4 separate regions of the Homo sapiens genome follow, and regions 2, 3 and 4 are each linked to region 1. The links are contacts of gene promoters, found by promoter capture Hi-C in blood cells and fetal thymus (Javierre and others, 2016). All regions are on one chromosome and are shown on one strand. Each heading gives the region's core, a stretch centred on a gene start or on the middle of the fragment in contact. The rest is flanking DNA. Distances are from core to core; before and after follow the strand shown.

Region 1 (7,952 bases), core at 2,734-5,233:
ATGTAATCAATAAAGACTGTAGGCCGGGCACAGTGGCTCACGCCTGTAATCCCAGCACTTTGGGAGGCCAATGCAGGAGGATTGCTTGAAGCCAGGAGTTCAAGATCAGCCTGGGCAACATGGCAAGACCCCCATCTCCACAAAAATAAGCCAGCACAGTGGCTCACACCTGTAATCTCAACATTTTGGGAGGCCGAGGTGTGCGGATAGCTTGAGCCCAGGAGTTCGACGAGACCAGCATAAGCAACATGGCGAAACCCCATCTCTACAAAAAATACAAAAATTACCCAGGTGTGGTGGTGCATGCCTGTAGTCCCAGCTACTCAGGAGGCTGAGGTGGGAGGATCACCTAAGCCTGGGAGGCAGAGGTTGCAGTGAGCCATGACTGCATCACTGCACTCCACCTGGGGTGACAGAACAAGACCCTGTCTCTTAAAGAAAATGAAAATTAAAAAAATTTTCCAGTCTGGACAGTATGGCGAAACCCTGTCTCCACTAAAAAATACCAAAAAAGTTAGCTGGGCATGGTGGCACATGTCTATAGTCCCAGCTACTCAGGAGGCCAAGGCAGGAAGATCACTTAAGCCTGGGAGGCAGAGGCTGCAGTGAGATCAGGCCACTGCACCCCTGCAGGGGGACAGAGCGAGACCCTGTTGCAAGATAAGAATTTTTTAAAACACTTTAAGCTTTTTTTTCAACAATTTTTGTGAGTGTATAGTAGGTGTATATATTTATTTGGGTATATATTTATATATATTTATATATTATTAGGTGTATATATTTATATATTTATATATATAAATATGTATATTTATTATGGAGTACATGAGATGTTTTGATATAGGCATGCAATGTAAATTAAGCACATCATGGAGCATGGGGTATCTATCCCCTCAAGCATTTATCCTTTGACTTATGGGGTATCCATCCCCTCAGGCATTTATCCTTTGAGTTACAAATAATCCAATTACACTCTGAGTTATTTTAAAATGTACAATTATTATTGACCATAGTCACCCTGTTGTACTATCAAATAGGTCTTATTCATTCTATTTTTTTTGTACCCATTAGCCATCCCCACCTCCCACCTACTTTTCCTTAATACTTACAAAAGGTAAAATGCACCTTCTGACATGGCCGAACTGTGCAAAGTGTTCTTTCAGCTGACCTGTGTGGCAGAAGAAAACATTAAAAGTAGTTACTATATTTTGGATTCTCTATCTTAGACTGTAGAAAGACAGGGTCACCAGATTTCTTGTGGACAGGAACTACTTTGCATTTCCTTAAAGGCTTAAGATTTAGGAAGCAGCTATGGTACTGACTATAAAGCCATAATGTACCAGACTTGGTGGTGAGATGGACAGAGAAGTTGTTGAGTTGGCTGCAGTCTCCATCCTCAGCAAATATCGAGTGTTTTCATACCAGTTACTGTGCTATGTGGACTATGATCCCTGTGAGCAGATCACAATGAAGAAAAAGACAAATTACAATCCAGTGTGTTTCCCGGTATACTGAAGATTTCCAAATAAAATCCCAACTTACTGGTCTTTCACAATTTAGTAAAATGTGTTGAGTTGCCCTCACCTACCCTTCCTGCCTTATTTCCCACTGCTAGCCCCTAGTTACTCTCTAGTACAACTAATTGAATTATCTTTATCTGTCCTGCGGGTTACCCTCTTTGCATATGTTGTTCTCTCCCCTCCATATGTTGGTAATCCTATCTCCCCCTGGCTAACTTGTAACACTATAACTATCCTTCAAGACCCAAACCAAGTACATCCACTGAGTATTACTTTATTGGGCTCCTATCACAGTACAAGACAATGTACCAGCCCTGTGAGACTTCAAAGATTTAGAGTATATAATCTTAAAGACTAAAAACTACACGATCTGTTTCTCTTCTGAACTACAGTGCTTGTACTTCACTGATTTACTTTTTATAATATCTATTTAGTTCTCCTAGTTCACCAAAACCTCACTGGTTCAACAATTGCCTATATTTGTTCTAAGTCTCTTCATCCCCACCACTAATTGTAAGCTCCCTCAGCATATAAACCACTATGTTTACAGTGACCAATAAACAGCAGGGCCTCAATATTGGCTAAATGAATAAGTAAAAGTCCACTAATCCTTCCAACAATCCACAGAGACTAAATTTTGAAGGGCTCTAATGGTTAAGTCAAACCAACTGGCAAGATCAAGGTCTCACAGAATATGATACTGGAGAACAAAATAATGTTAAACATATGTTTTATACCAGATAATTAAAGTCCTAGAAGACACTGATTTCAAAACAAACCAGCTCTGGAAGGTAACCCTCTTCCTAAATTGCCTAAAATGGTGAAGGAAAAACAGCTGCAAGCACCAAGAACAATGCCTACCACAGAATAGATACTCAAATAAATATTTGCTGAATCAATGGAACAACAAAGAGAAACTGTTTCGAAGCTGTACATAATGCTGACTCTTTTTAAGGGTTTTAAACTAGCCCTTTATTGTCTGGAAACTTGCATCCGCAAGATGCTAATGAAACTCCTCAGCCTTTCCATAAAGTTTCACAGGGACTACGGGAGACTTTACTGGGCTTGGTCTTCACCAACCACATGTTTAAAACACGGGGCACAAACCAACCTATTTCCCATTCTACTACTCACATCTGAGCCACTAAAAACTTAGAAGAAACTAAATCTTGCTCCATTTTGTTTCCAGGGGTTGACCTGAAACATGAATATCTACAAAAAGAGTGACCACGAATGTTTACATGTTGGTAAGCAAATATAAAAACCTCATCTCAAAACTGCAGCTGACAAAAATTGAAGGTGGTGAAAGATTTCAGAACTAATTATTCCAACCTTTATCTGTAGACTAGGCCTCTCCCGTAAGTTTCAATTTTAGTTACCGTGAAAATAACTATCATTTGCTGAGTACTTACACTGTATCTAACACAAGTCTAAGAAGTTTGCATATAAACTCAATCCTCTCAACAATCCTATGAGTTGGGTATTATTGACTCCATTTTATCGATGAGTAAACTGAGGCCCAGTTGTGAGCCCTTTTCCCATACTAACTTCAGTTATTCAAGTGATAACAACGATTAAATGGCCAAGTTGGAATTCTAACCCCAACGGTCTAGCTTCGGAGTCCACTTCTCAGCCACAATGATATACAACCTTTGTCCAATTGCCTGACGGAAACCTCACAAGTTTCTCAAAGTCAACACATTCAAACTTTACTCATCTTCTCTTGGCCTGCTCCTAACTTCTAAACAAACAATTCACCAATGCTAAAAACCCAGAAATCATTTCTCCCTTTCCTTTATTCCGTACACTTCTCCCACTTAAGCCATCACGAAACGGCATCTAATTTGCTTTTAAAACATTAATGCATCTGACCACCATCCTTCTACCATCGCCCTAATTCAGGTCCTCACGTTTTAAGTAAATTAATGAAATTGCCTTTTAGCTCCTCTGCACGCCTACAATCTTGCCACCTTGAATCCATCCTCCACACTACAGTCAAAATTATCCCTTCTAAATTGTAAATCTTGGTTACCAAGTAATAAATCTTTACACCAAATCACTCCTAAAGGCAAGAGCCGGTGCATTCGTGACCCCAAAAGCTCAAGGGACATCCCTAAACGGTTAACTGCAAACAAAATTTCTTTCTGCTCACTTGCATGCTCAGGAGCAGTCTCCTAATTCAGCCACCACGCTGACTTAAGTACCCTGCAAAAAGCAGAAGCTTTGAGGATCACTTGGACCTAAAAATTCCACTACTCCCACATCTCCATCACTCACTCGACGCCGCAGTCCAAGGAATTCTTCTCACAAAAGCAACCGGCTGATTGATACTTCTACGCAGCGCCGCAGCACCTCTCGCTGCTGAGGCCGCCATCTTCAGACTAAAGCACCTTCTCGAGCCGAGGTCGCGGCCCCGGAAAAAATTTCCGGATCCGGAACACGAGAGAATCTGCTTCCGGATCAGAGGGTATAGGCCGCGAGATGGGGAAGATGGCAGCGGCCGTGGGCTCTGTGGCGACTCTGGCGACTGAGCCCGGGGAGGACGCCTTTCGGAAACTTTTCCGCTTCTACCGTCAGAGCCGGCCCGGGACCGCAGACCTGGAAGGGGTCATCGACTTCTCGGCGGCCCACGCAGCCCGTGGCAAGGGTCCTGGTGCCCAAAAGGTACAGAGAGAGGAGTGGCGCGCGTCTCTCCATCGCTTTGCCCCGCGTCTTGGAGGGACTTACGTGTCTTCTTCGCCTCTTTTCACCTCCAGACCGATTGTTATTGAACGATTCCTGACCTCCTTTGGCTGCAGAGTCGAACTCCCCACTAACCGTCACACTTAGCAATAAAGCGTTGAGATGCCTGTTTCTTTAGGCGGCCATTCCTGGCGGGGGCGCTCAGTCAAAAGAGCCTGGGAATCCGTGTTTATTTCTTACTGTAACTGTCTCCTCACATTTCTGTTTGGGTTTTTGTAAAACCCCATAGAACGTCTTTGTAGACGGTAGGGTAGACTTCTGCAGCTTAAAAAAAACCACTCCCGAGGAATCCCAGAACTGACAGGGATGCGGCGCTGTTTGTTAAGCCACTGTGCGTAAAACTAGTCCCTGTCTTCTCCTCTGGCTCTTTTAGAAGGAGGTCATTGAAGGATTCTGAGAATCCCTCCGTGTTGAAAATAAATGGCAAACAAGTATATATGGAATACAGGCACCGTTCTCTCTCTCAGCTTTTCCCCATGGAGATTAAGAAGGGGAACACAGTCCGGGAGCGGTGGCTCAAGCCTGTAATCCCGCACTTCGGAGGCCGAGGCGGGTGGATCGCTTGAACCCAGGGGTTCGAGACCAGCCTGGGGCATGGCAAGACCCCCGTTTCCGCCAAAAATACAAAAAATTAGCCAGTCTCATAACCTGTTCTCAAGTAAATAGATTTTTTAAAAATTATTTTTTTAAGGGAACATAACAGGCAAGAGGGAAAACGGGGAACCAAAACTGTAGTCCAATTTATATTTTCTTTCTTTACAATCCACTTTAACGTTGAGGATATGCAGTCCCTTAATTTGCTCTTGGTGTTGTCCACAGATGTCTAGATGAGGCATTCTTTCCAAGCTTCCTAACAGCTCTGATAAAATTGGGATGCTACAGTATTAAGTGTTAATGATTGCATACTTGAGCTCAGCTTTTCAGCACCTTCATTTGTTAGGGAAAAAAAGTGGTCTTAGAGTTGTCAAAATACAGAAAGTCCACACCCCAATAATAATATACTTTTTCTCTCCAGAGCGCTTCAGACTCTCATTCAGCTCCTTTTACCTACATTTTACCATAATATGTACATGCTTTTTAGAATGTCAGCCATCAGGGAATGAGCCATTATGTGTCTAGTACAGGACCTAAAACAGTACTAAGTACAGTATGTGTTGAGTACATGAAAGCTTGGGTGTTTAGTTCCTCAGCTCAAAGCAGATTAAAGTAGTAATTAAGAGAAGTTACTATTACAAGCCAGCTGATGAGACTGGTGGGGAAAGTGGTGGTTAACAGTCTGGCAAGGGAGGAAAGAGAAAACCTTTTATAAAAGCTCAGTGGTGTCGTTCAGTTTAGCATATGATAGAATAGGTCCACTAACATCACCTCTGAGAGTGTGTTGAATTATAGTGCAGTATTAAGTATGGCCTATTAAAGAAATCATGACAAAATGCTTAAAAGTGTTTTACCAGTGCCTAGGTACCTGGAAAACTCAGCTGATAGTACTGTCAGAGGGTTTCATATAGCCCTTTTATTATAGAGACTGGTTATACATCAGCAAACTTTTGGTATTTTGTCCAGGAATCTCCACACTTGGAGAAGTTGATAAGATAAAAGATCATTCTCTTTCAAAGAGAATGTTTCATATATATATATATGTGTGTGTGTATATATGTGTGTGTATATATAATATATATACTTTTTTTTACTGAGACAGCGTCTCACTGTGTCACCCAGGCTGAAGTGCAGTGGCGTGATCTTGGCTCACTGCAACCTCCATCTCCTAGGTTCAAATGATTCTTCTGCTTCAGCCTCCCAAGTAGCTGGGACTACAGGCACGCGCCACCATGCCTGGCTAATTTTTGTATTTTTAGTAGAGACGGGGTTTCGCCATGTTGGCCAGTCTGGACCCAAACTCCTGACCTCAGGTGATCTACCTGCCTTGGCTTCCCAAAGTGTTGGAATTACAGGTGTGAGCCACCGCTCGGCCTGTTTCATATATTTTAAGGCAAGGCAGACCCTAGGTTTACTATTCAGGGAAGAATAAAGGTTTTTTCCTTTAATGTTTTGACTTCAATGACTGCATAGTGGGTCTCTTAACCAATGTAATGAGCCATCCATTAGATACTCACATACAAAGAAAACTTCAGCCCCTGAAATACTAAATTCATTTCTAAGTAATTAACAGAAGCAGAAGTTGTAGCGTCAGTTGGACATTTCATCTAGAAGAGGGCAAACAGGATTTTTTAGCTTTTACTTTTAGCAGACAGGATTCCCAGTGTCTCACTGCAACATTTTTTCTGTCTGTTTACAGCACTCTCTTTTCATTCTCTTTTTTTTTTTTTTTTTTTTTCTTAGACGGAGTCTTGCTCTGTTCCTAGGCTGGAGTACAGTGGCACAATCTCAGCTCACTGCAACTTTCACCTCCCAGGTTGAAGCAATTCTGGTGCCCCAGCCTCTCGTAGCTGGGATTTCAGGCGCCCGCCACTACACCCAACTAATTTTTGTATTTTTAGTAGAGACGGGGTTTCACCATGTTGGCCAGGTTGGTCTCGGACTCCTGACCTCGTGATCCGCCTGCCTCAGCCTCCCAAAGTGCTGGGATTACAGGCGTGAGCCACTGCGACCGGCCTTCTCTTTTCATTTTCTCACCCTGTCCAGCTTGGTGTTCCTTATAGCTCTGTTTAAATACCAACTCTATACAAGTGTCTCAAAAGCATTACTGTTAGCCCTAACTGAAGTAAATAGCTTTGTGACTCAAGATATTTCAGTACACCAAGCACCTTTCATGATTCAGCCCCATAAGAAGTTGGAAAGGTATGATGTCATAGGAAAAAGTAGTTTTGAAAGCCAAAATTAGCCTGCTTAAGTTTTCTTATTACCATTTTGCCTTAATTTTGGGTGACTCTACTGTTACTATATAGATGAGAAACTGAGGCTCTAAGACATTAAATGACTCATCTAAAATGCCCAGATCAAGTAAGCAGTACAGCTAAGATTAACCCCAGAGTTAATACTCCTTGCTTTGGCCAGGCACAGTGGCATATACCTCTAATCCCATTGCTTTGGGAGGCCAACACAGGAGGATCACTTGAGTTCAGGAGCTTGAGGCTGCAGTGAACTATGATCATGCCTCTGCACTCGCCTGAGCAATAGAGCAAGGTTCTGTATCTTAAACAAGAATCCTAGCTTTGCCTCATACAAGAAATGTGTTTGGAGGTTTGAGGTTCCCGGGGTTGACCTGCAAAATAGATTTAGTCCTTTAACTTCTGTTTCCTTCCTGCCAGGTGATCAAATCTCAGCTAAATGTGTCTTCTGTCAGTGAGCAGAATGCATATAGAGCAGGTCTTCAGCCCGTCAGCAAGTGGCAAGCCTATGGACTCAAAGGCTATCCTGGTGAGTGTAACTGACCTCAGAGAAGGCAATATCACTCAATCATTTATGTCTTCATGTCTTCAAAGAAGGTACTGTGTGTGAGCAAGTAAATAGACAAAGGATACACATAATAAACAGATAAATGTTTCATTTCCAAACCCATTCTAGACTGTACCTTGTCTAAGACGTCCGTTTTGAAAGGATAGAACAGGAGTCAGCAGTGCCTGCAAATGTGGCTGAAAGTGGCATGACCATTGAAAAAATAAGGACATTGCCTCTGGGCTCCCTGCCACAACTCTGAACATCTGATTTGGCAGAAGTGCTGTGAAGAATAAT
Region 2 (7,952 bases), core at 1,836-4,335, 360 kb after region 1:
GATGTCACACACAGTAAGTCAAGCTAATGATTCAGATAGCCTGTTGTAGTCTCACCTTTCCAATATTATAAATGATAGTCTGATCCAGAATTTCTCTTTTATTCCCAGGCAAAAATTAACTTATTCATTTTTTATTCAACAAATATTTTGGGGCTAATATTTATTCAACAGATGTTTGTTGGGAGCCTACCATGTACCTGATACTGTTCTAGGTACTAAAGAAACCACAAATGAACAAAATAGTCCATCACTGCTCTCAGGGAGCTTATGTTCTAGTGGGGGAAGTGGACAGAAAACAATTACACATCATACTTCACAGACTCTTAAGTTGCCGTCAACTGTAAGTTGTGCTTTCACGTCCCACCAAGAGAGGAAGAAATGCTTAAGATGGATCATCTAATAGACCCCCCATATGCAACTGGGATACCAAAAACCTGCACCTTCAGTGAAAATATAAAGACAAAAATCCCCCACACAGAAAAGGACAGCAAGGAAGCTTGATTGTCTCAAACTTGACACTGTGTCATAGGAGGAAAAAATATCTCCCCTGAGAATAGGAACCACCAGTTGGTATTAGCCAGTGTCTTGTCTAAATTCACTCTGCCAGGAGGATTAAACAAAACCCTAAACAGAGAACTTAATTTCAAGAAGTCTCAGATTGGTAGCATTCCTAAGTACTGGCAGAAGCAAATGCAAATCTCTCGTGGAAAGAGTTGATGTCAATCCAGGCCCACGGCACTTTTAAGATATCATCAATTTTTAAGACATCCTATCTTTCAGTTGTGTTAAAATCTAAAAGCCAGTGTGCATCTTGCAATCAACAAAATATGCTCCATATCATGTCAGGCAGTAATAGGTGCAGTGAAGAAAAATGAAGCTGGGTAAGGGCAGAAACAGTGACAAGGCCAGGAAGGGGCACACATTTTATATACAGACCTCTGAGAAACCTCTCAGCAGAAAACCTGCAGGAAGGAAGTCTTCAGTTAACTAAAGAAGAGTTAATGTCCTAGAAGAGTATTCTAGGCAGAGATTACAGCAAATGCAAAAGCTCTCAAGTGGGAGAGTACTTGGGGTGTTTGAGGACTATCAAGGATTGAAGAGGCTGTTGTGGCTGGAGGGACCAGGGCAGAGTGAGGATTCTGAGAGGTGAGGTCAGAGTGCAAAGGGCCTTAGGGCTGGGCGAGGTGGCTCACGCCTGTAATCCCAGCACTTTGGGAGGCAGAGGCGGGTGGATCATCTGAGGTCAGAAGTTTGAGACCACCCTGGCCAACATGGTGAAACCCCGTCTCTATTAAAAATACAAAAAATTAGCCAGGCATGGTGGTGCACACCTGTAGTCCCAGCTACTCAGGAGGCTGAGGCAAGAGAATTGCTTGAACCAGGGAGGCAGAGTTGCAGTGAGCCGAGATCCGAGATCATGCCACTACACCCCAGCTTGGGCGACAGAGCAAGACTCTGTCTCCAAAAAAAAAAAAAAAAAAAAAGGGCCTTAGAGTTCCAGGTGGCAGGCTTGGTTCCCAGTGCTGTGCATACAGAGGCAGTGAGACCCAGTGCCTGCCACCAAGCTTACTTTCTAGTAGAGGAGGCAGATGATACACAGTGTCAAGAAACAGAAATGGACTATAATTTCTGGGTTGAAGAGCATTAAAATAGACCCACAGCCTAGGCCAGTTTACAGCTTACACTGAATTACCCAAGTGAACCTATAAAGATCAACAGAATCCCACAGCTCTGATTCTTGGAGTGACCTCCTCTTGTCTGTCCTGAGGTAGGTTGGAGTAATTTTGGATATTCCAAAAGATGGCTCTGTTTTATCTGAAGGAGTGATTCTTCTTGTTTATGTTAAAAAAGAAAAGAAACAAACTAATAAACTCTAAAATGAAGCCTCCGTTTCCCCCATGAGGTGTATACTACCATTTTCCAGTCATTTACTCAACCTCTTTGAGGAAATGATGCCCTCAAGCAGGGATTCTCAGACCTTTATACTCTTAAAAATTATTAAGGACCCAAAGAATTTTTGTTTGTGTGGGTTATATCTATCAATATTTACTATATTAGAAATTAAAACAGCCGGGCGCGGTGGCTCATGCCTGTAATCCCAGCACTTTGGGAGGCCAAGGTGGGTGGATCACGAGGTCAGGAGATCGAGACCATCCTGGCTAACATGGTGAAACCACGTCTCTACTAAAAATACAAAAAAATTAGCTGGGTGTGGTGGCCGGCGCCTGTAGTCCCAGCTACTCGGGAGGGTGAGGCAGGAGAACGGAGTGAACCCGGGAGGCGGAGCTTGAGTGAGCTGAGATCGCGCCACTGCACTCCAGCCTGGGCGACAGAGTGAGACTCCGTCTCAAAAAAAAAAAGAAATTAAAACTGAAAAATTAGAATATGGTTATTTGTTCATTTAAAAATAATAACTCATGACATGCTATATATAAAACATGTTTTTACTTAAAAACAACTAATTTTCAAAGCAAAGAATGTAGTACAAAGAGAGACATAAATCTCTTTAATGTTTGGCTTAATAAAAGGCAGTTGGATTCTCAGCTCTGCTTCTGAGTTCATTCTATTGCGGTATCACATGTCATATAGTCTCTGGAAAATTCCACTGCACACTCTTGAGAAAATGAGAATGAAAAAAGGGAAATAACATTTTAGTGTTATTATGAAACAGTTTGAACTTCATAGACTCCCCCGAAGGGCCCCTAGACCATACTTGGATAACTGCCATTCAAAAAAATCCATGTCACCTTTTATCAGCAACAGATTCCCAAAAGGCCTGGGTTATTTTGCTACAACCGTGGCACTAATTTTCTAGTTTTTGTGAGGCCAGGGGAAATGGAAGAGAGCATAAATCATTCCCTTGCATCTTTATAATCAACTATTCATGGCTGAGCACGGTGGCTCACGCCTGTAATCCTAGTACTTTGGGAGGCCGAGGCAGGCAGATCACCTGAGGTCGGGAGTTCAAGACCAGCCTGACCAACAACATGGAGAAACACTGTCTCTACTAAAAATACAAAATTAGCCGGGTGTCGTGGCACATGCCTGTGATCCCAGCTACTCGGGAGGCTGAGGCAGGAGAATTGCTTGAGGTTGTGGTGAGATGCATCACTGGTGCACTCTGCCAAAAAACAAACAACTATTCACATAGCTGTGTTTGAAGCCATTGGGATTGTTGATTAATGTGCTTTAAAAAGGAGAGAAAGTGATGACCCCTAGCACTGAACGGGGACAGGGTATGAAACGGATCTGCTGAAAGACTGCCTCAGGGATAACTGCAGAGAGGGTTGCCTTGATCATCATTTTGTACTTTGTTTTGGTGCCCAGTCTCCCTTAGGCAGACCTCCTCCTTTTGCTTCTAGCCAGTGGCTTTGTGTGTAGAACTGAACTGAGATTCTACCAATTCCTCGGTTAAAATTCTGTGGGCCCTGTGGGCCGCAGAGTGAGGAATAACATTGGAACTCACAGAAGCCGAGGGCAGGATGGTGGTTAATAGGTGTTGGGGCCAGGGGGTGGGATGGGGAGATGTTGGTCAAGTGGTATAAGGTGTTAGAAGGAGGAACAAGTTCTGGAGATCTTTGTACAACATGGTGACAATAGTTAATAACAATGTATACTTGAAAATTGCTAAGACAGTAGATTTTAAATGTTCTCACCACAAAAAGGAGTATGTGAGGGGATGGATATGTTAATTAGCTCAATTTAATCATTTTACAATGTGTACATATATCAAAACAGCACATTGTACACCATAAATATATACACTTTGTCAACTAAAATAAATAAATAAAAGAAACAACAATGACAAAAAAAAAAAAAAAAAAAAAAAACCAGACCAGCAGTCCATCTCAGATGATGGAGCTGTGTGTTTTCCATGGTTCTCCTAGCCTTTGACCTGGCCTTGTTAGTCTTTGTTTTCACACTGTCAACACTTTACTGTGGACCAATTCAGCCCTGGGCAGTGGTCGGCTAAGGTGACAGTAGAGCTAAATAAATGCCAGGGGCAGGTGGGGCAGGGGGTATCTCGAATGTTGTTTTATTTCAAAGTTTCTCCAGGATGATTGAGTCTTTTCAAAGAGTCCTTGAATTAACATGCTCTCTTCCTCTGAGAGGCCACAGATGGTATCTCCAGTGAGTAAGGATGCCACGGAAGATCTGCGGAAAGCAACTGGTCCTTTGGAGGCTCAGGCCTTGGTGAAACAGGATTTGCTGCCTGCAGACCAGGCCCAGGTCCTCAATGAGGTAGGGGGCAGATTCTGGCTCTTTCTTATGAAAGGAGGCACCAGAATGTGGACACATAGTGGTTGGGTTGGAATTAGAAAGCACTGCGAGGGTGGCTCCCGGAATTCTCTCTTTGCCCTCTAATTTAGGGCATCTTGGTCTTCATTATTTTTTGGAGAATGATTATTTGTATCTTCCACAGGGCCCATCATTGTACTGGCACCCAGTAGGCACCGATTCAGAAAACGAAGTGTTAGAGTGAATGTTCATGTGTTCTCTAAAATCCTCTTCATTGAGGAGCCTGAAGTCATTGGACTATTTTGCTCTTACTTTTCTTGTGGTAGATCTATTTAGTATTTATGATAAAGATTCCACAGAAGCTTTTTTTTTTTTTTTTTTTTGAGACAGGGTCTCCCTCTGTCGCCCAGGCTGGAGTGCAGTGGCACGATCTTGGCTCACTGCAACCTCCACCTCCTGGGTTCAAGTGATTGTCCCACCTCGCCTCCCGAGTAGCTGGGATTACAGGCACATGCCACCACACCCGGCTAATTTTTGTATTTTTAGTAGAGGCAGGGCTTCACCATATTGGTCAGGCTAATCTCGAACTCCTGACCTCAGGTGATCCACCCGCCTTGACCTCCCAAAGTGCTATGATTACAGATGTGAGCCACTGTGCCTGGCCTTGATTTTTTTTTTTTTTTTTTTTTTTTGAGACAAAGGTCTCACTCTGTCACCCGGCTTCAGTGCGATGGTGCAGTCATGGCTCACTGCAGCCTCAAAATCCTGGGCTCGAGTGATCCTCCTGCCTCAGCCTTCCAAGTAGCTGTATGGAAGTGATGGTGTAGTGGTGCCCCTGCCATGGAGGGATGGGGGCGGGATGGGGTTGTTTCTATCATTTATTAGCATATGTGTTAGAATAATGGTTGGTATTAGTGTCAATGAAGACACCACCAGGCGTTATAATTAGATTTGTATAATACTTTACAGTTTACAAGCATTTGTATCTGTAACACTTCATTTACTCCTGAGAACAACCTTGTCAGATAGGTGCCATTGTGTCTCCATTTAAGAAATGAGGAAACTGGCTGGGCCCGGTGGCTCATGCCTGTAATCCCAGCACTTTGGGAGGCCGAGGCAGGCAGATCACTTGAGGTCAGGGGTTCGAGACCAGCCTGACCAACATGGAAAAACCCCATCTCTACTAAAAATACAAAATTAGCTGGGCGTGTTGGCAGGTGTCTGTAATCCCAGCTACTCGGGAGGCTGAGGCAGGAGAATTGCTTGAACCTGGGAGGTGGAGGTTGCAGTGAGCTGAGATCGTGCCATTGCACTCCAGCCTGGGCAACAAGAGCAAAACTCTGTCTCAAAAGGAATGAAAGAAAGAAATGAGGAAACTGAGGCTGAGGGCTGTTAGAGACTTTACTAAGGCTATGTAGCTAATATGTTGCAACCTAATCCTTTATTTAGCATTTTAGAAAAGGAAGGATTTATTTAAGCACGCTAGCCAAAGTCTGATTCATTTCAGTTAGCAAAGGAGATGAGAACTGGAGGGCTTATTCTCCAGAAACAGATATTATGAGAATACAGCCTGGGAGGATTACAAACTTGATTTATTTATTTCTCACAAATACAATTCCAGCCTCTTAACTGGATTGCTGACTCACTGATGTGCTCTCCCCTGTGGGCAATAGGTATAGTTTTCTTGTTGAGTTGCCTGCCAACTGTTTGGAGAAGGGGCAGAAATTAAGGTATAATAGCATGAAACCAGGAACACTAATCTGAGTGATTTGAAGGGAAACTCACCAGGGAGACATTGTAAGCTCCCGCATGGGTTAGTGAGGGCTTTGAGTATCAAATGCCATTTGCATTCTTCCATGTAAGTCAGACGTCTGGCAGCAAATGTACTGTTTAAATGCAAGTCCTGGGGCTGGTCTAAGGTGAAATTGTAACTATTGATAGAACACTGTTAGTGACTTCAAGACTGAGACAATCTGTAGCCCGAGGTGGGCTGTGGATGAGAGAGAAAGACTATAAACCAGATTCTGTCTCTGCAGTGCTTTGGAGAGCTGATTGACAGTAATGTAGAAGTAACCCTTGAGTGGGAATTGTAGCAGGAGGATGTGTGGCAGAGTGGGAGTCAAACTAAACCCTAGGAGCAAGAGCTATTAATGAGAGGAGCCACAGGGAGGTACTGTGCAGGTGAGGTAAGACCAAGGCATGGCCCAGAATCACAGTCAATGCAAATACTGTTAACAACCTGCGAGGGTGTTGGCGGACAAGGACCTTATAAAGGGTTTGGAGCAGGAAAGTTGCAAAAGGTAGGAAACAGTCTTTAAACAATGGAATATTTTGATGGCTTTAAAAAATTAGTAGAATTTATTAGCAACTTCTATTTGGAAGAAAGAGAAGGAACATTGACTAGTACATTAAGCTTTGAGTGGGGATAGTGGAGATAATAGAGCAGGGGTGGGGCAGCCTTCATGCAAAAAGAGATTAATTAGAATCTGCCACTCGAATACTCCTTTAACCAGAGTTCTGTTGTGCAGATGGCTAAGTATCAAGTTCCACAGAGGTCTGGGGACATCGTTATGATCCAGTCTGAACATACAGGAGCTATAGATGTTCTTTCAGCTGATTTGGAATCTGCAGATCTTCTGGGGGACCACAGGAAAGGTGAGACCTTTGGGAGTAAAGGAGGTGGTTTGTTTCCAGTAGATACTCAAAGAAAGGCAGGCAGACAGACAAATGGAAGGAAAGAAAATGACTTGTGAAAGGAAGTCAAGCCAGTAGAAAGAATGTCTGACTGTGCCAGCCTCTCTTAGCAAAATGCCCGGGGTACTCATGTTTCCTCATGGTTTCTCAGTGCTAAGCTGCTTGTCCTTTCAGTCTCCCCACCTCTGATGGCTCCTCCATGCATCTGGACCTTTGCCAAGGTGAAGGAATTCAAAAGCAAGCTGGGCAAAGAGAAGAACAGCCGTCTGGTGGTGAAGCGTGGTGAGGTGGTGACCATCCGGGTACCTACTCATCCAGAGGGGAAGCGTGTCTGCTGGGAGTTTGCGACCGATGACTATGACATTGGCTTTGGAGTTTATTTTGACTGGACCCCTGTAACTAGCACTGACATAACTGTGCAGGTCAGTGATTCCAGTGACGATGAGGATGAAGAAGAGGAAGAGGAGGAAGAGATTGAAGGTAAATTTAATTTTAACCTAATTTGCAGTTTTCTGGCTTAATCTGATTTCTGGTGACCATTTTGTGGGTTGTACCAGTCCTCCTCTTCCTTTGAATGCAGTTGAGAAACTCAGCATTACAAGCTAAGCTGAGTGGTACAGGCCAAAGAGAACATTCTGGTGGGGTTGATACTGCTGCCTTAATTGAAAGAAAGCCTCTTTTTCCTTATCGGTACCTCATTGTTTTCCCAACACCTTCCTGGGGGCAGGGATGGGGCAGGAGCAGAGAGAGGGTGAGTCATGCGGCAGTTTAGAGGGATGGTCATTCAGGTCGCATGTAAGCCAGAGATTATTTTACATCTCTCTCTTAGTTTGTAGATATTTATTCTTGGCCTGGAACCAAAGTGAGTGATTACAGTTTGCTAAAGGTATCCATTCTCTCCTTATCCCAAACTCTCATAGCTGGCTATTGGTTACTTCTTTACTTCATGCCCAGACAAGTTTTAAAAGGGTCTCCGGGCTCCATTCCGGCTGTTATTTGTAGTGTCTACACACTACACA
Region 3 (7,952 bases), core at 3,505-6,004, 270 kb after region 1:
ATTTTTATCTAAAACTTTATTTTCTTTATACTCATTATGTTCGAATTGAAGATGATTTATCATGCATGTTGTTGTATATAGATTTTGAGTTTTTCAACCTTGTAAACTTTGGAAGTGGCAAAGCTGATAGTACACTTTTAGTGTATGCCCACAGAATATGAAGGTTTCCCATGTAGAACTTTTCTTGAAAGACCTAAGGATGAAATGGAATTGAATAACAAAAAATTAACTATAGCTCTTAAAGGTTACTTTCTTTAATATTAGGAATGATTGTATACCAACTATTTTATATGAACTATTTTACGAAGATTGGATTATGATATGTAATTTCTGTTATTCTGTCTTATGTTATTTACATTTTTACATTTACATTTTTATATACATTTACATTTTTGTATACATCTGTTGGCTCAATCTGAGAATATTTATGAACAGTGAGTCAGAATGACATGCCCTATTTATATTACTGATGTTAATTGTTAGATATTTACATGATCATACTACCATTGATCATGTACATGGTCAAGGATGCCAAAAATAACACTGAAATAGGTATTTAGCTCTTGGACTTTTCAAAATCTAAAGCTGAAGCAAAATATTCATTTTTGGTTAAATACTGAGGCTAAAGTGAAACTTAAAGGTAAAGCTTGGTACTCTATCTACTCAGTGCTTCATTATAGGTCAGCACTGGCCAATAGAACTTTCTACAATGATAGAAATATTCCATATTTGGGCCGGGCGTGGTGGCTCACGCCTGTAATCCCAGCACACTGGGAGACCAAGTTGGGCAGGTCACCTGAGGTCTGGAGTTCGAGACCAGCCTGGCCATCATAGTGAAACCCTGCCTCTACTAAAAGTACAAAAATTAGCCAGGCATGGTGGTGGGCACCTGTAATCCCAGCTACTTGGGAGGCTGAGGCAGGAGAATCGCTTGAACCTGGGAGGCAGAGGTTGCAATGAGCTGAGATTGTGCCATTGCACTCCAGCCTGGGCAACAAGAGTGAGACTTCGTCTCAAAAAAAAAAAAAAAAAAATTTTCCATATTTGTGTTGTCCAATATAGTAGCTCCTAGTCACATGTAGCTGTTGAGTTCTTTAAAAGTGGTTAGTGTTAACTAAGGAGGTGAATTTTTACATTAATTAATTTAAATTTAAAGAAACAGTTGTAGCTAGTGGCTATTGTATCGTACAGTGCAGTTATAGATAAACCTACTAATGATACTTAGTCACTCTTTGCCTATCCCCCCACCCGCCTCCAATAACCATCTATACCCAGAAATGAAGAATTTGTTTTTTTAAAGCATGGGAAGTTCAGTTAATCAGCTATCTCCCTCATCTAAGGAGACAAAATACCTCAAAGCCTTTTTCTGCTTTTTGTAGCTATCTCATTATCGAGAGCATTTGAACATTCAGGACCCTGACAAACGAAAAGAATTTCTTAAAACCTGTGTTGGGTAAGTATGGGGGAAAAATGATTTTAAGTATAAATACCTTTACCCAGAAGGAATGAAGAAAATTAAAAAGGGTGGAATGGATAGGCAGGAAGGGGAGGGCTAACAATGAATCATACCAGCATCATTCAGGGTCACCTCATGCAGTGGTGTTCACACACTAGTCCCCAGCAGAGTTTCCACTGCTTGATGGTAAACTGAGGAAAAAAAAAGACAAATGTAGAGAGATTTTTTTTCCTAAAGCTAAATTTATTTAATTTGAAAGGTTATCTTTTATTGTAGGATTTTGTCCTCACTCTTCTCTTCTTCTTTGGTACTAAAATGAGCTGTACCTTTTTTTATGACCTTAGGTAATAAAAAGATAGCAATACTTTAGGGACCTGATGCATTTTTTCAGTGTTACTGGTCCTTGAAACCCCAAAGTCCAAGAACCACTGATCCAGGGCAAGCTTTCATCCAGAATTTAACTTATTGCAAAACCCAGCTCCACATATTCCTGTGACAGGATGCCCGTTGCTCTTGAAACAGCTCAGTTTGTTTTTGAACAACCTTCGTTATTGGAAAGTGCTTCCTTACGTTAAGCTGAAATTTGCTTCCCTGTATCTTTCAAGACAGGTGTAGAGTCTACCCAGTAGTCCTTGCTTCTTCAGGTTCAGTACTCATGGTTGTTTCAACCATTCCTCATGTGACATGATTTCCCGGCTTCATGTTTAGAAATTTGATTATATCAGTGAAATCCATTTAATGTTACCAAATACTGAGATATGTTATATGGCCTCTGGAAAACAAGGAGAAAAGTTAAAATAGTGAAGTAACTAGAATTTATAGCATCTCTCTTTATCTCTTCTAAAAATTCACTATGGCTAAAACTTATCTGGAATAGTGTAATTAAAACTCAGAATTCTTCCTGGAGTGAGCAGAGTATGGGGAATAATGCAGCACTTTCTAAAAGATATATCTGTGAACTGGGCATTTAAAATCTGGCTTCTATTCTTGGCCTTCCCCATTGACCACATGACTTTTTGGCAAGACGCTGTCCCTCAGCATCTTCATGTATAACAATAATGTGGCCGGGCGCAGCAGCTCACGCCTGTAATCCCAGCGCCTTGGGAGGTTGAGGCAGGTGGATCACGAGGTTAGGAGATCAAGACCGTCCTGGCGAACATGGTGAAACCCTGTCTCTACTAAAAATACAAAAATAAGCTGGGCGTGGCAGCATACGCCTGTAGTCCCAGCTACTCTGGAGGCTGAGGCAGGAGAATTGCTTGAACTCAGGAGGTGGAGGTTGTAGTGAGCCAAGATCATGCCACTGCACTCCAGCCTGGGTGACACAGAGAAACTCCATCTCAAAACAAGCAGACAAACAAAAAACATAATGCAGTGTTGAAGATGGGACCCTTGACATTTGTGATATTTGCTGATCTATAAACATACCACCATGGCATGTAATTTAATTTACCTTTTGTACTCTGCCATAAAAAAATGGCTAACAAATCTAGGTGTCCCCTCAGTAAGTTAAGCACAAGCCACAGAATTTCACTGGGATGTGGATGATGGGCAGTTGCCTAGGCTCACTCATTAGCTTTGTGACTCATTCACCAAATATTCCAACTCTCAAAATGAGAGGATTCTAATTCATTTATCAGCAAAATTATGAGTGACTATAAGTATTTTGTGGACTCTCAGGATCCCTCTTGAATTGGCAAAACCTTTAATATGAAATTCACGCCATTCATGCGATGTCTTTCTTTAAGGGACGCTCTAAAGGTGAACTGAGATCAGACTTGTGAGGCACCGTGAGCCTCTTATACTTATGCTGGCGATTTGGTTTAGTTGGGTTTGTTTCCTTGTTTGAATAGAGAAAGGTACTAACCTTCTGGCACTCTACCAGTTTGCCATTTTCAGCAGAAGATTCCGCACACATACAGGACCATTACACGCTCCTGGAACGTCAGATCATTATTGAGGTTAGACTCTTCATCTCTATATCTTTTGCTTCAGTGCCAAGGCTCAGTGCCGTTCAGCATCTAGGAGATTTCTATGCTCTGCACGTGGGTCATTTCTTACTGGTTTCTAAAAGCCTTTCATTTTCTGCCTGTACACAATAGCCCCCTTCCTCCATTGTTTTTAGGATCCTTTTTCCTCTTACCAGCTGTTAACCTGGAAGTATTTCTTCTTCATCCCGAATCTCCCATGTCCTCCCCACTTCTATTTGTTTCCATCCAATGTGGATTCATGATCATTTGATGGATTTTAAACTACTCTGGGGATATCCTAGGCAATTTCTTTCTTTTTCTGTTCTTTGTTTCTCTCCTAGGGTGGGAAACACAACTGCTGTAGTATTAAAAGATTTTTCTCCTGCCTCTACTCCATGGACATTGTTTTTTTTTTTTTTCACTTGGCTCACTCCACCACAGGCAAATGATCGCCATCTAGAATCAGCAGGACAGACTGAGATCTTCCGAAAGCACCCCCGCAAAGCCTCCATCCTCAACATGCCACTAGTGACAACACTTTTCTACTCCTGCTTCTATCACTACACAGAGGCTGAGGTACAGGCAAAATATGGAAGATTCCACAAACTCTCATTGCACAAAAAGAAGATAGTTCAAATCCAGTACTTTTATGTACTCTATTAATAATGGGTATGTATAGTTCTCAGAAATCCACCTGGAAGCTTTCCTGGCCCTCACCAGGGGTAAGAGGGCCTCATCTGGCCAGGAGGGAAAAGAGGTTTGTAAGGTTTGTAGCTTCAAGTGAGCTGGCATGCTAGCATAGCAAGTTCTGTCCCTGGTGCTGTTACCTGTAGAAGTCTCTGTTCAAAGGTCCACAATATCAAATGGATTAGCATGATGTGGAGAAAAGCAGTAGGGTGGCAAGTAGCTATGGATACTTTTTTTTTTTTTTTCTCTGAGATGGAGTCTTGCTCTGTCGCCCAGGCTGGAGTGCAGTGGTGCGATCTTGGCTCACTGTAACCTCCGCCTCCTGGGTTCAAGCAATTCTCCTGCCTCAGCCTCCTGAGTAGCTGGGATCACAGGTGTGCGCCACCACTCCCCGCTAATTTTTTTTTTTTTGTATTTTTAGTAGAGACAGGGTTTCACCATGTTGGCCAGGCTGGTGTTGAACTCCTGACCTCGTGATCCACCTGCCTCAGCCTCCCAAAGTGCTGGGATTATAGGTGAGAGCCACCGCGCCTGGCTACTCTTTTTTTCTTTCTAAATTTTTCAAAGAAGTATGGATTCCATGATAACAGGCAGACATTTTCTCCTTATTTGGATTAGCAGAAAATGGGAAAAGGCACCATACTTATTACTCCAGTTCTTGATAAGCCAGCTTATAGTGGTATCTGACTATTCCCAATGGAGCTTTTCCCTGAAATTAATTTCTATGTTTAAATGGCAGCAGAGTAAGATGTAGAAAGTCTCTGTAGTGGGAAAGAAAATGAGAGCTTGGGTGGTACTTGGGAAAGTCAATATCACTAAAGTTCCTTTTTCACTTTCATCCTAGGGGACATTCAGCAGTCCCGTCAACCTGAAGAAGACATTTAAGGTAGATACAAATTGGTCAGTGTTATGAAACTAGTGATCAGGGTAACTACATGGAGTGGATGTTGCTTTGTAACCCTGTACAGTGTGTCCTTTGATATTCAAGGTTAAAGGTGGAAAGGAATGAGTTTGGGAAAGTGAGAGAAGACTGAATGGCCTATAGCAGTGCTGGGGCTTGGGAATTAAGAAGTTCTTGAACTGAGAAATTTTTTGATTTTTAAGGGGCAGAGTCAATATCAGGAAATATTTAATGTCTGTCTTTTCTAAAATTCTTAAGCACCCCCATTGATGTATTTCTACTTCCCCTTAATTTTTCTCGGTCTCTGCTTTCCAGATCCCAGATAAACAGTATGTGCTGACAGCCCTGGCTGCTCGTGCCAAGCTTCGAGCCTGGAATGATGTAGATGCCCTATTCACCACAAAGGTGTGTGCCCTGCCCCTGTGCTGCTGAGGCCTTGGGAGACAGAAGGGTTCTATCATGTTATAAGTTCTAGTTACCGGTTTACATTTTTCCTCCAACTTTTTATTTTCCAAAATTTCAAACCTAAAGAAAAGTTGAAAGAATGAATTTTATAGTTCATATAATAATCAAATATATACTATAATAGTATAATAGTCTTTATCCACATCACTAATTTATTAACAATTTTGCCATGTATGCTTTCTCTTTTTCTATACCTATGTGTTTTTCTTTTCTGAATCATTTGAAAGTAAGTTGTAGACATCTTAACACCTCTCCTTTAATACTACGTAAGCACAATATTGGGCTGGGCGCGGTGGCTCACGCCTATAATCCCAGCACTTTGGGAGGCCGAGGCGGGTGGATCACCTGAGGTCAGGAGTTTGAGACCATCCTGGCCAACATGGTGAAACCCCGTCTCTACTGAAAATACAAAAATTAGCTGGGTGTGGTGGTGTGCACCTGTAATCCCAGCTACTCAGGAGGCTGAGGCGAGAGAATTGCTTGAATCCAGGAGGCGGAGGTTGCAGTGAGCCAAGATTGCACCATTGCACTCCAGCCTGGGCAACAAGAGCAAAACCCTGTCTCAAAAAAAAAGAAGCACAATATAATTATCACTAAAAAAATTTAACATTAATATAATAATACATATTTAATCATGGTCCATATTTAAATTAGTTATTTATAGCTACTTTTGGTTTGCTTCTGTATTTTTTTCTATCAGGATCCAATCAAAGACCTTGGATTGAGTTTGGTTGTCATGTCTTTACTGATTTACCTTTTTTTAAATTAATTTTTATTGTATATATTTAAGGTACAACATAATGTTTTGATCTACATATACATAGTGAAATGATTATACAGTCATGCCAATTAACCCATCATCTCACAGTTAGCCATTTTTTGTGAGTGTGGTAAGAACCCCTAAAATTCACTCTCTTAGCAAATTTCCAGTATACACTACACTATTATTAACTGTATTCCTCATGCTGTACATTAGATTTCTAGATTTATTCATCCTGCATAACTACAACTTTGTATCCTTTGACCTACTTTTTTCCCCCTCTGGAAACTACTTTCTATGTGTTTGACTTTTTTAGATCCTACATGAGTGAGATCATGAGGTTATTTTCCTTTCTGTCTGGCTTATTTCACTTAGCATAATGTCCTCCAGGTTCATCCATGCTGTCACATGTCAGGATCTCCTTATTTTTTAAGTTCTGAATATATTCCATTGTATATATGTACCACAATTTCTTTATCCACTCATCCATCAATGGACACTTAGGTTGTTTCCATATCTTGGCTCTTGTGAATAATGCCACAATAAACATGGGAGTGTAGATGTCTCTGTGAGATGCTGATTGCATTTCCTTTGGATTTATATGCAATAGTGGGATTGCTGGATCATATAGTAGTTCTGTTTAAACATTTTTGAGGAACGCCTATACTGTTTTTCATGATGGCTGCACTAATTTACATTCCCACCGACAACAGTGTACCAGGGTCCCTTTTCTCTATACCCTTGCCAACACTTGTTATCTTTCTTCTTTTTTTAAGATAAATGTTATTATATATTGTATATACTTAAGTTATACGATAAGATGTTATGAGATACATGTAGAGAGTAAAATGGTTACTACAGTGAAGCAAATTAACATATCTATCATCTCAAATTATTTTTTTGTGGCAAAAACAGCTAAAATCTACTCATTTAGCAAAACTCCTGATTACAGTACAGTACTATTAACTACAGTCCTCATCTTGTAATTAGATCTCTAAAGCTAATATTCCAGCATGTATGTATATATATACCATAGTTCCATAGTTTCTGTATCCATTTGTTTGTCAATGGACACTTAAGTTGTTTCCTTATCTTGGCTATTTTTTAGGGAGAGGGAATTATTTATTTGTTTATTATTTTTGTAAGTTACAGATATTTAAATTCTCAGCAATAATTTATAATAGTTACATTTCATGAATAGTTAACATCTCATGAATAGTGTTACAATGAATGTGGAAATGCAAGTATCTTTATGAGGTGATGATTTCATTTATTTTGGGCATATACCCAAAAGAAAGATTGATTACTGGGTCATATGATAGTTCTATTTTTATTTTTATTTTTACTTTTTTGAGAGAGGGTCTCACTCTGTCACCCAGGCTGAAGTGCAGTGGCATGACCGTAGCTCACTGCAGCCTGTTTTCCACATTGGCTACACCAATCTACATTCCCACCGACAGGGTACAAGAGTTCCCTTTCCCCACACCCTTGCTAACACATCATTTGTCTTTTTGATAACAGTCATCTTAACAGGTGTGAGGTGATATCTTATTATAGTTTTGATTTGCATTTCCCTGATGTTTAGTGATACTGATCACCTTTTCATGTACTTCTTGGCCATTTCCATGTCTTCTTTGGAGAAATGTCCATTCAAGTCTTTTGCCCATTTTTAAATCTGGCAATTTTTGTTTCTGCTATTGCATTGTGTGAGTT
Region 4 (7,952 bases), core at 1,912-4,411, 260 kb after region 1:
TAACATTTGCCTGCCTTGCACTGTTGCTTTTAATACATACCTATGCTGAATGCCCTAGCTCTGTTGTAGGGTCCCCACGTCTGACACTTTTTTTTTTTTTTTTTGGAGACGGAGTTTCGCTCTTGTTGCCCAGGCTGGAGTGCAATGGTGCGATCTCTGCTCACCGCAACCTCTGCCTCCTGGGTTCAAGCGATTCTCCTGCCTCAGCCTCCTGAGTAGCTGGGATTACAGGCATGCGCCACCATGCCCGGCTAATTTTGTATTTTTAGTAGAGACGGGGTTTCTCCATGTTGGTCAGGCTGGTCTCGAACTCCTGACCTCAGGTGTTCTGCCTGCCTCGGCCTCCCAAAGTGCTGGGATTAAAGGCCTGAGCCACTGCACCCAGCCTCTGGCACTTTTTTATATACCTTACAACACCTGAGAGAGTGCCCTGGACAAAGTGGATGCTCTTAAGAATGGATGACTACTTATGGGTAATTAGAAGATTAGAAGTATGATTTGATCAGTTGGAGACCCAAGAATCTGGTTTTATATGGCAGGTTCAATATTTGTTTTACCAGATTCTTTTCTGCATCCTTGATTTTTGGGATCAGTTAGTGGTGCAGGAAACTAAAGCTTTTGGAACTCTTTAGGGAGAGACCCAGAAAGGGGCAATGTATGTTTTCCTGTCACTGTAGATGAATCGGACAAAGGGTGATGAGGAGGAGTATTGGAACAGCTCCAAGTTCAAGGCTTTTACCTTTGACGATGAAGACGATGAGCTTTCACAGGTAGGTCAACTGCTGAAGTTTGTACTCTTCTCCACAGTGCCACTATAAAATTCCTTCCTCTTGCATTCTGGGTAACTAGGCTTTTGACCATGTATGTCTTCATTAGGCTCAGAAAAGAGCCAGAAGGATTGTAAAATCCAGCTCACTGCCTTTCTTACTTTACCTTTTTAAGATGATTTATTCCTACAGGTTTTTTTTTCTTTTGAAGAACCCCAAGTCTTTTATTTATGTGATATATATTTTTTTATTTTTGAAAGATGAACTGGATTGGAAGATTTATCTTTGTTGTGTCTATTTTGCAATTGAGGAATCATTTATTTTTAGAGAGGTGAATAAATTCACTCAGGTTTACATAGCAAGTCACTGCCAGGAATATGATGAGAATTCAAAAGTGACTTTGATTCCTCCTAACTCTTTTATCACTGGACTGTAGTGTTGGCTAAAAATCAGTTTGTTTTCTTGGCAAATATGTAGTATGCTAGGCTTTCGATTGCACAGGGCGAGTGTTGGCCACCTTCAGGCCCCAATTCCTCAGCCTTCTTGATTGTCAGAAGAGAGGTGGGAAATGATGATTTGCCTGAGCACCCTAGCCTTGTGTCCCTCTGCAGTTAAAGGAGTCCAAGCGGGCGGTGAACAGCCTCCGAGACTTCGTGGATGATGATGACGATGATGACCTGGAGCGAGTCAGCTGGAGTGGGGAACCTGTGGGAAGTAAGTAGAAGAGTCCCTAGGCAGGGATAGATGTTGAGGATTCTTATCACTGATAAAGGCTCTACTTGTTTGTTTCTTCAATGCTAGTTAGGAGAGGGACTAGGATAAGACTATTTTCAGATAAGCATACATCTGGAAACTTAACTCCAGGAGAAGATACTTGGGAAATCCAGCAGGAGTTCCCACATGGCTATATAGGTCTGCTCTTCAGGGGTTGACTCTTAGCTGGCTATTTCATTCTCATTTGGGGTGCTTGTTAAAATGACATACTCCTAGGCTTTATCCCAGAGATTCTGTTCATTAGGTCTTCTGCGGAGTAGAGGGGGTCTCAAATTTTAATAAACACTGCAGGTGATTCTGATATATAGCCATATTTGGGAACTACTGACTTGACTCAGTATACTAATAACTGATTGACAGAACGGACTTCCTTACCCACCAAGTCTCACTGCTTAGCTGTATATGATACCACTTAATACTTTTTCAGAGTCCATTTGATTTTTTTTTTTTTTTTTTTTTGAGATGGAGTCTTACTCTGTTGCCTAGTCTGGAGTGCAATGGCGCGATCCTGACTCACTGCAACCTCCGCCTCCCAGGTTCAAGCGATTCTCATGCTTCAGCCTCCCTAGTAGCTGGGATTAAAGGTGCCAACCACCATGCCTGGCTAATTTTTGTATTTTTAGTAGAGATGGAGTTTTACCATGTTGGCCAGGCTGGTCTTGAACTGCTGACCTCAAGTGATCCGCCTGCCTTGGCCTCCCAAATGCTGGGATTATAGGTATGAGCCACCATCCCTGGTCCCCATCTGATTTTTAAGAAATATTTTTAATTGAAAGTTTTTAAAAAATAGGCCATACTATAATGTGACTAAAGATTAAAAAAAAAAAATTAAAGGTCTACAGTGAAAAGTTTCCGTTCCATATTGTTATGTATCTTCTCAGTTTTCAGTTCATGTCCTCCCAAAAAACAATCGTTGCTTGGTTCCTGTGTATTCATCTAAAGACTCTTTTTGCATCTGGAAAAGTATATAGAAACATGTATTCTTATCCCATTTTTACACAAGCAGTAGCATGCTTCATACCTTGCTCTTTTTATGTGTTAATATAGCTTGGAGATCTTTCCATGTCAGTATATAAAGAGTGTTCTCATTTTCTCTTTCTTTTTTTTAAATAGCAGCATAGTATTAAATTGTATGGGTTTACCATCATTTTTTAGCCAGCCCACTGTTGAATTTTAGATTTTTCAATCTTTTGCTCTTTATATTTCTATCATTGACTTTATATTCTGACCATAGATGCATAAATGAAAGAGCAATTCTTAGAGTGGAATTACTCACATAGGATGTTTGCATCTGTATTGGGTAGATATTGCCAAATTGACCTCCACAGGGGTTGTACCAATTCATACTACCACCAGCAATGGAGGAGGGTTCCAGTTTCCCTATAGCCTGGCTAACACGGTATTATCAAGCTTTTGGATCTTTCCCCATCTTATAGGGGACTAATGGTTTCTCATTATATTTTTAATTTGTAGTACTCTTAGCAAAGCTGGGGGCAGGTGGTGTGTGCCTCTGGAGGGTAGTGGCGATGGATGGCTTGAGGCCAGGAGTTGAGGCTGACGTGAGACATGACTGTTAGATATGATTGTGAATAGCCACTGTACTCCAGAGCTCCGGCAATGTAGTGAGACCCTGTCTCTAAAAAAAAAGAAAAAAAGAGAAAAAAGAGTAAGGTTGAGCATCTTTTCATATGTTGAAGAGCCATTTGAATTTTCTGTGATCCACCTATTCATGTCCTTGGTCCATTTTTCTGCTGATTAGTCTATTTGATTCTATCTTTTCTCCCTGCCCCAAGTTGGCCAAGGGACCAGGGCTTCTGGTGAAAAGCTTTTAGAGTTTATTGAATGTTGGATGTCAAGGCTTTATTGTGGATGAGAATTGCTGATGTAGTTCTTACTATCTCACAGGTATCTCATGGTCCATCAGAGAGACTGCTGGTAATAGCGGCTCAACCCACGAGGGGCGTGAACAGCTAAAGAGCCGAAACAGCTTCTCCTCCTATGCACAACTACCCAAGCCTACTTCTACCTACTCCCTGAGCAGCTTTTTTAGAGGTAAAGAGAGATGCTTAAATGGATAGGGAAGTCCTTCTCTTTTTCCAGAAAAATCTTAGGCCATAATTTTCATTTACTTTGTAAGAAAAAGATTATTGAAGGGTAAAGCATTCTCATTGGAGGTGGCAGCTGGGTGTTAGGAGCGAGATAAATGAGAGAAATTCAGAGGAGTTGGACTGGTTTTCTATAGCATGATGAATGAAATTGACATTAACCCTGTGACTGGTACTGAAAAAATTTGCCTAGATCAAAATTCCTCCCTACTCCTTGTGCATTGCTGTTGGAAAACCTTGTTGGTGGGAATGCCAAATGGTGCAGCCACCGTGGAAGACAGTATGGTGGTTTTTTAAAAAAAATTAAACAGTAAACATATAACTGGCTAGGCGTGGTGGCTCACGCCTGTAATCCCAGCACTTTTGGGAGGCTGAGGCAGGTGGATCACCTGAGGTCAAGAGTTCTAGACCAGCCTACCAATATGGTGAAACCCCGTCTCTACTAAAAATACAAAAATTAGCCGGGCATGGTGGGGGCTTCTGTAATCCCAGCTGCTCAGGAGGCTGAGGGAGGCAGATTGCTAGAACCTGGGAGGCAAAGGTTGTAGTGAACCGAGATTGCACTACTGCAGTCTAGCCTGGGTGACAGAGCAAAACTCCATCTCAATAAATAAATAAATAACATATGATCTAGCAATTTTACTTCTGGGTATATCTCAAAAAGAATGGAAAGCAGGTACTTGAACATATATTTGTACCTCCATGTTGATAGTAGCATTATTCACAATAGCCAAAAGATGGAAACAACCCAAATGTCCATTGATGGATGAATGGATAAACAAAATGTGCCATATACATGCAGCGGAATGTTACTCAGCATTAAAGAAGAACGACATTCCCATACATGCTGCCATATGGATGATCCTTGAGGATGTGATACTAAATAAAATGAGGCACAAAGGGACAAATATTGTATGACTCCATTTACGTATGACCTAGAATAGTCAGATTCATAGAGACAGGAAGTAGAATGGTGGTTACCAAGAGCTGGGGTGGAGGGAATGGAGAGTTATTGTTTAAAGGGTGTAGAGTTGGTTAAAGGGTAGAGAGTCTCAGTTTGGGATGATGAAAAAGTTCTGGAGATGGATAGTGGTGATGGTTGTACAACAGTGTGAATGTACTTAATGCTACTGACTTATACACTTAAAAATGGTTAAAATGGTAAATTTTGTTATGTATATTTTACCATAATTAAAAAAAATTTTCTCCCTGCTCCATTTTTTAATGGCACTTCAGATTTCTACAGATGAATAAAACCTTTTTTAAGCCTTAAGTTCCTATATTGCGTTATTGAGTTGGTTACACATTGTGTCTTTAACCAAGCCTGGATGGCTCTGATTGAAACTGTTGACCTTTTCCCTCTTGTGTTCTTTACCTTTAGGTAGAACTAGACCTGGAAGTTTCCAGTCCCTTTCTGATGGTAGGCATTGAACCCTCTTTTAATTGCTGTGGGAAATGTTACTGATCTGGTACAGTCTGGGGAGTTATGGGGACAGGTAGTAATTAGATGACAAGATGAACTTTCTTCTGCATCTACTGTCATTATTAGAGGAATTTTCTGATACTGACTAAGGAGGTAGAAATCATTCTAGCTACAGGGGCAAAGGTGACTTCTAGGGATGCTGTCTTTGGGGAAGAACGGAGATCTGCTTTTGGCCATAAAGTTAACATTGGGAGCCCACAAGTCAAAAAAATGTGAGAACGAAGAAGTAGAGGGAAGGAATGACAAGCAGGATTCATGGTGCCCTTCTGAACCAGCTGCTTATTCTTTTTCAGCTCTGTCAGACACACCTGCCAAAAGCTATGCTCCAGAGCTGGGGAGACCCAAAGGGGAGTATAGGGTGAGTTACAGCATACACTGGTGTGACACTTTCCACAGTATAAAGTACCTTGACATATGTTACCTGGCTTGATTTTCCCAACTATTTGAGTAGATATTTTTTTAACCCTGTTTTATAGATTAGAAAACTGGGTTTCTAAACATGAGGGCTTACCTGGGGTCTCAGAGCTGGGAAAGGGTGCAACTTAGACTTATAATCTCTATATTCTGACTCAGCTCTGCCATACTTTGCTTACTCATTATGCTCCCACTTGAAGGCTGTACTTTGAAACCCAGTGATCATCACTGCAGTCTGGAAGCCTGGTAGAGCTCATATTCCCATGAAACAAATAAAGCAAATTGATTCATAAGGAAGAAACCATATCCTAAGGTCGGAAAAGGAACATGTCTCCAACATCTCTCTCTTTCCTTCTGTTGGCCAAAGGCATTAATTGTTAGAATCCTAAAACGTGATTCTAATTCATCTAGAGGTTGCAGTCCTGAACTGGTAGGCATGGGGCTACTGGCTTTGTCAATTGGCTCCTCCCTCTTTGATCCATCTCCTCCTATCTATATTGCCCCTGCTCTAGTTCCTTCAGAAACTCAAAACAAAACCGTCCCATTTCTTCATTTTTTTCACATCCATTCCCTCCCACAAATTATTTCCCCCTTAGACACTAAGACTGAGTTTGAGTTGAGGAGCGGGTATGCTGATAAATTTGATTCCTTAACTTCCTGGGATTCACGTATTGCTAATATTCCAGGATTACAGCAATGACTGGAGCCCCAGTGATACAGTGCGACGTCTCCGGAAGGGCAAGGTAAGGACAGAGAATTTTTGTGAGGTTCTTTGGGAAGCTGGGCAGCTTGTTCACACAGGGAAGATTTCTTGACCTCTCTTCAGTTCTCATTTGTTCAATGAATTTCAGGGGGAAAATAAATCCACTAAGGTTGAAAGTCAGTGGCAAAATTTCTGATTCTCCATTACTGTTGCTTTGATGGGGTAGTGGGGAAAGAGTGATGGATGAGAGGGAAAAGTACATTTAAGAGTGAGAGGCCAGGGCCAGGGGTGGTGGCTCACGCCTGTAATCCCAGCACTTTGGGAGGCCGAGGAGGGTGGATCACGAGGTCAAGAGATCAAGACCATCCTGGCCAACATGGTGAAACCCCATCTGTACTAAAAATATAAAAAATTAGCCGGGTGTGGTGGCAGGCACCTGTAGTCCCAGCTACTCGGGAGGCTGAGGCAGGAGAATCACTTGAACCCAGGAGGTGGAGGTTGCAGTGAGCTGAGATTGCACCACTGCATTTCAGCCTGGTGAGTGAGACTCCGTCTCAAAAAAAAAAAAGAGAAGCCGGGCATGGTGGCTCACGCCTGTAATCCCAGCACTTTGGGAGGCCAAGGCAGGCAGATCACCTGAGGTCAGGAGTTCTAGACCAGCCTGGCCAACATGGTGAAACCCCATCTCTACTAAAAATACAAAAAATTAGGCGGGCGTGGTGGCGTGCACCTGTAATCCCAGCTACTCGGGAGGCTGAGGCAGGAGAATCACTTGAATCTGGGAAGTGGAGGTTGTAGTGAGCTGAGATCGTGCCACTGCACTCCAGCCTGGGCAACAAGAGTGAAACTCCGCCCCCCTGCCCAAAAAAAGAGAGTGAGAACAATCTTTTATGTTAGATCTGTGATTCATTGAGTTCATTTTTGCATATGGTGTGATGTAAGGGTTTGAGTTTAATTGTTTTCCCCATGTAGATCTCCATTTGTTCCAGCACTATTTGTTGAAAAAACTATCCTTTCCCCATTGAATTATCCTGCTGATGCTTTTGTTGAAAATCGGGCCAGTCACAGTGGCTCATGCCTGTAATCCCAGAACTTGGGGAGGCCAAGGTGGGAGGATCTGTCGAGCCCAGGAGTTCAAGACTAGGCTGGGCAACATAGTGAGACCGTGTCTCTACAAATGATAAAAAAAAAAAAATTAGCCAGGTGTGCGGCCGGGCACGGTGGTTCATGCCTGTAATCCCAGCACTTTGGAAGGCCAAGACAGGCAGATCACCTGAGGTTGGGAGTTTAAGACCAGCCTGACCAACATGGAGAAACCCCGTCTCTACTAAAAATACAAAATTAGCTGGGCGTGGTGGCACATGCCTGTAAATCACAGCTTCTCAGGAGGCTGAGGCAAGAGAATCGTTTGAACCTGGTGGCCGAGATTGTGCAATTGCACTCCAGCCTGGGCAACAAGAGCGGAACTCCATCTTAAAAAAAAAAAAGCCAGGTGTGGCTAATTTATAATATAAATGTATATTATAATTTATAATTATAAATATATAAATGTAACTTATAATCTTATAGCAGGATATGTTTTTAGTCACAGTTGCTTGAGAGGCTGAGATGGAAGGATTGCTTGAGCCCTGAAGGTCGAGGCTGCAATGAGCCGAGATTGTGCCACTCCATTCCAGCTTAGGCAACAGAGCAAGACCCTGTCTCAA

Evidence for each region. The method cuts DNA at HindIII sites, captures the fragments that hold promoters and counts their contacts. A CHiCAGO score of 5 or more calls a contact.
Region 2: a contact is called between a fragment that was not itself captured here and the fragment with the promoter of ALKBH1 in region 1, in 2 of 17 cell types (naive B cells and total B cells). The highest score is 6.3, in naive B cells.
Region 3: a fragment that was not itself captured here is called in contact with the fragment with the promoter of ALKBH1 in region 1 in 2 of 17 cell types (total CD4 T cells and naive CD8 T cells); the score reaches 5.0 in total CD4 T cells.
Region 4: a contact is called between a fragment that was not itself captured here and the fragment with the promoter of ALKBH1 in region 1, in 10 of 17 cell types (naive CD4 T cells, total CD8 T cells, naive CD8 T cells and 7 more). The highest score is 16.3, in naive CD4 T cells.

What each region holds. Positions count from the first base shown.
Region 1 is chr14:77,704,054-77,712,005 of GRCh38, reverse strand. It overlaps ALKBH1 (alkB homolog 1, histone H2A dioxygenase), which reads left to right and starts at 3,983. Exons shown (of 6, transcript NM_006020.3): 1 at 3,983-4,184; 2 at 7,529-7,637. The coding sequence starts at 4,002. It overlaps SLIRP (SRA stem-loop interacting RNA binding protein), which reads right to left and starts at 3,903. Exons shown (of 4, transcript NM_031210.6): 1 at 3,798-3,903; 2 at 1,110-1,168. The coding sequence starts at 3,894. RefSeq lists an enhancer at 4,020-4,349. The HindIII fragment of the contact is 1,367 bases long and covers 3,744-5,110 here.
Region 2 is chr14:77,342,639-77,350,590 of GRCh38, reverse strand. It overlaps TMED8 (transmembrane p24 trafficking protein family member 8), which reads left to right. Exons shown (of 6, transcript NM_213601.3): 3 at 4,113-4,242; 4 at 6,768-6,894; 5 at 7,108-7,413. Among named protein-coding and RNA genes, the nearest start is that of GSTZ1, 26 kb to the right of the region's middle. The HindIII fragment of the contact is 3,036 bases long and covers 1,568-4,603 here.
Region 3 is chr14:77,431,309-77,439,260 of GRCh38, reverse strand. VIPAS39 (VPS33B interacting protein, apical-basolateral polarity regulator, spe-39 homolog) reads left to right here. Exons shown (of 20, transcript NM_001193315.2): 12 at 1,380-1,453; 13 at 3,342-3,417; 14 at 3,868-4,002; 15 at 4,958-4,999; 16 at 5,330-5,419. Among named protein-coding and RNA genes, the nearest start is that of NOXRED1, 12 kb to the right of the region's middle. The HindIII fragment of the contact is 1,250 bases long and covers 4,130-5,379 here.
Region 4 is chr14:77,446,828-77,454,779 of GRCh38, reverse strand. It overlaps VIPAS39 (VPS33B interacting protein, apical-basolateral polarity regulator, spe-39 homolog), which reads left to right. Exons shown (of 20, transcript NM_001193315.2): 2 at 678-770; 3 at 1,379-1,481; 4 at 3,447-3,593; 5 at 5,028-5,066; 6 at 5,423-5,487; 7 at 6,230-6,286. The coding sequence starts at 678. Among named protein-coding and RNA genes, the nearest start is that of VIPAS39, 6.8 kb to the left of the region's middle. The HindIII fragment of the contact is 415 bases long and covers 2,954-3,368 here.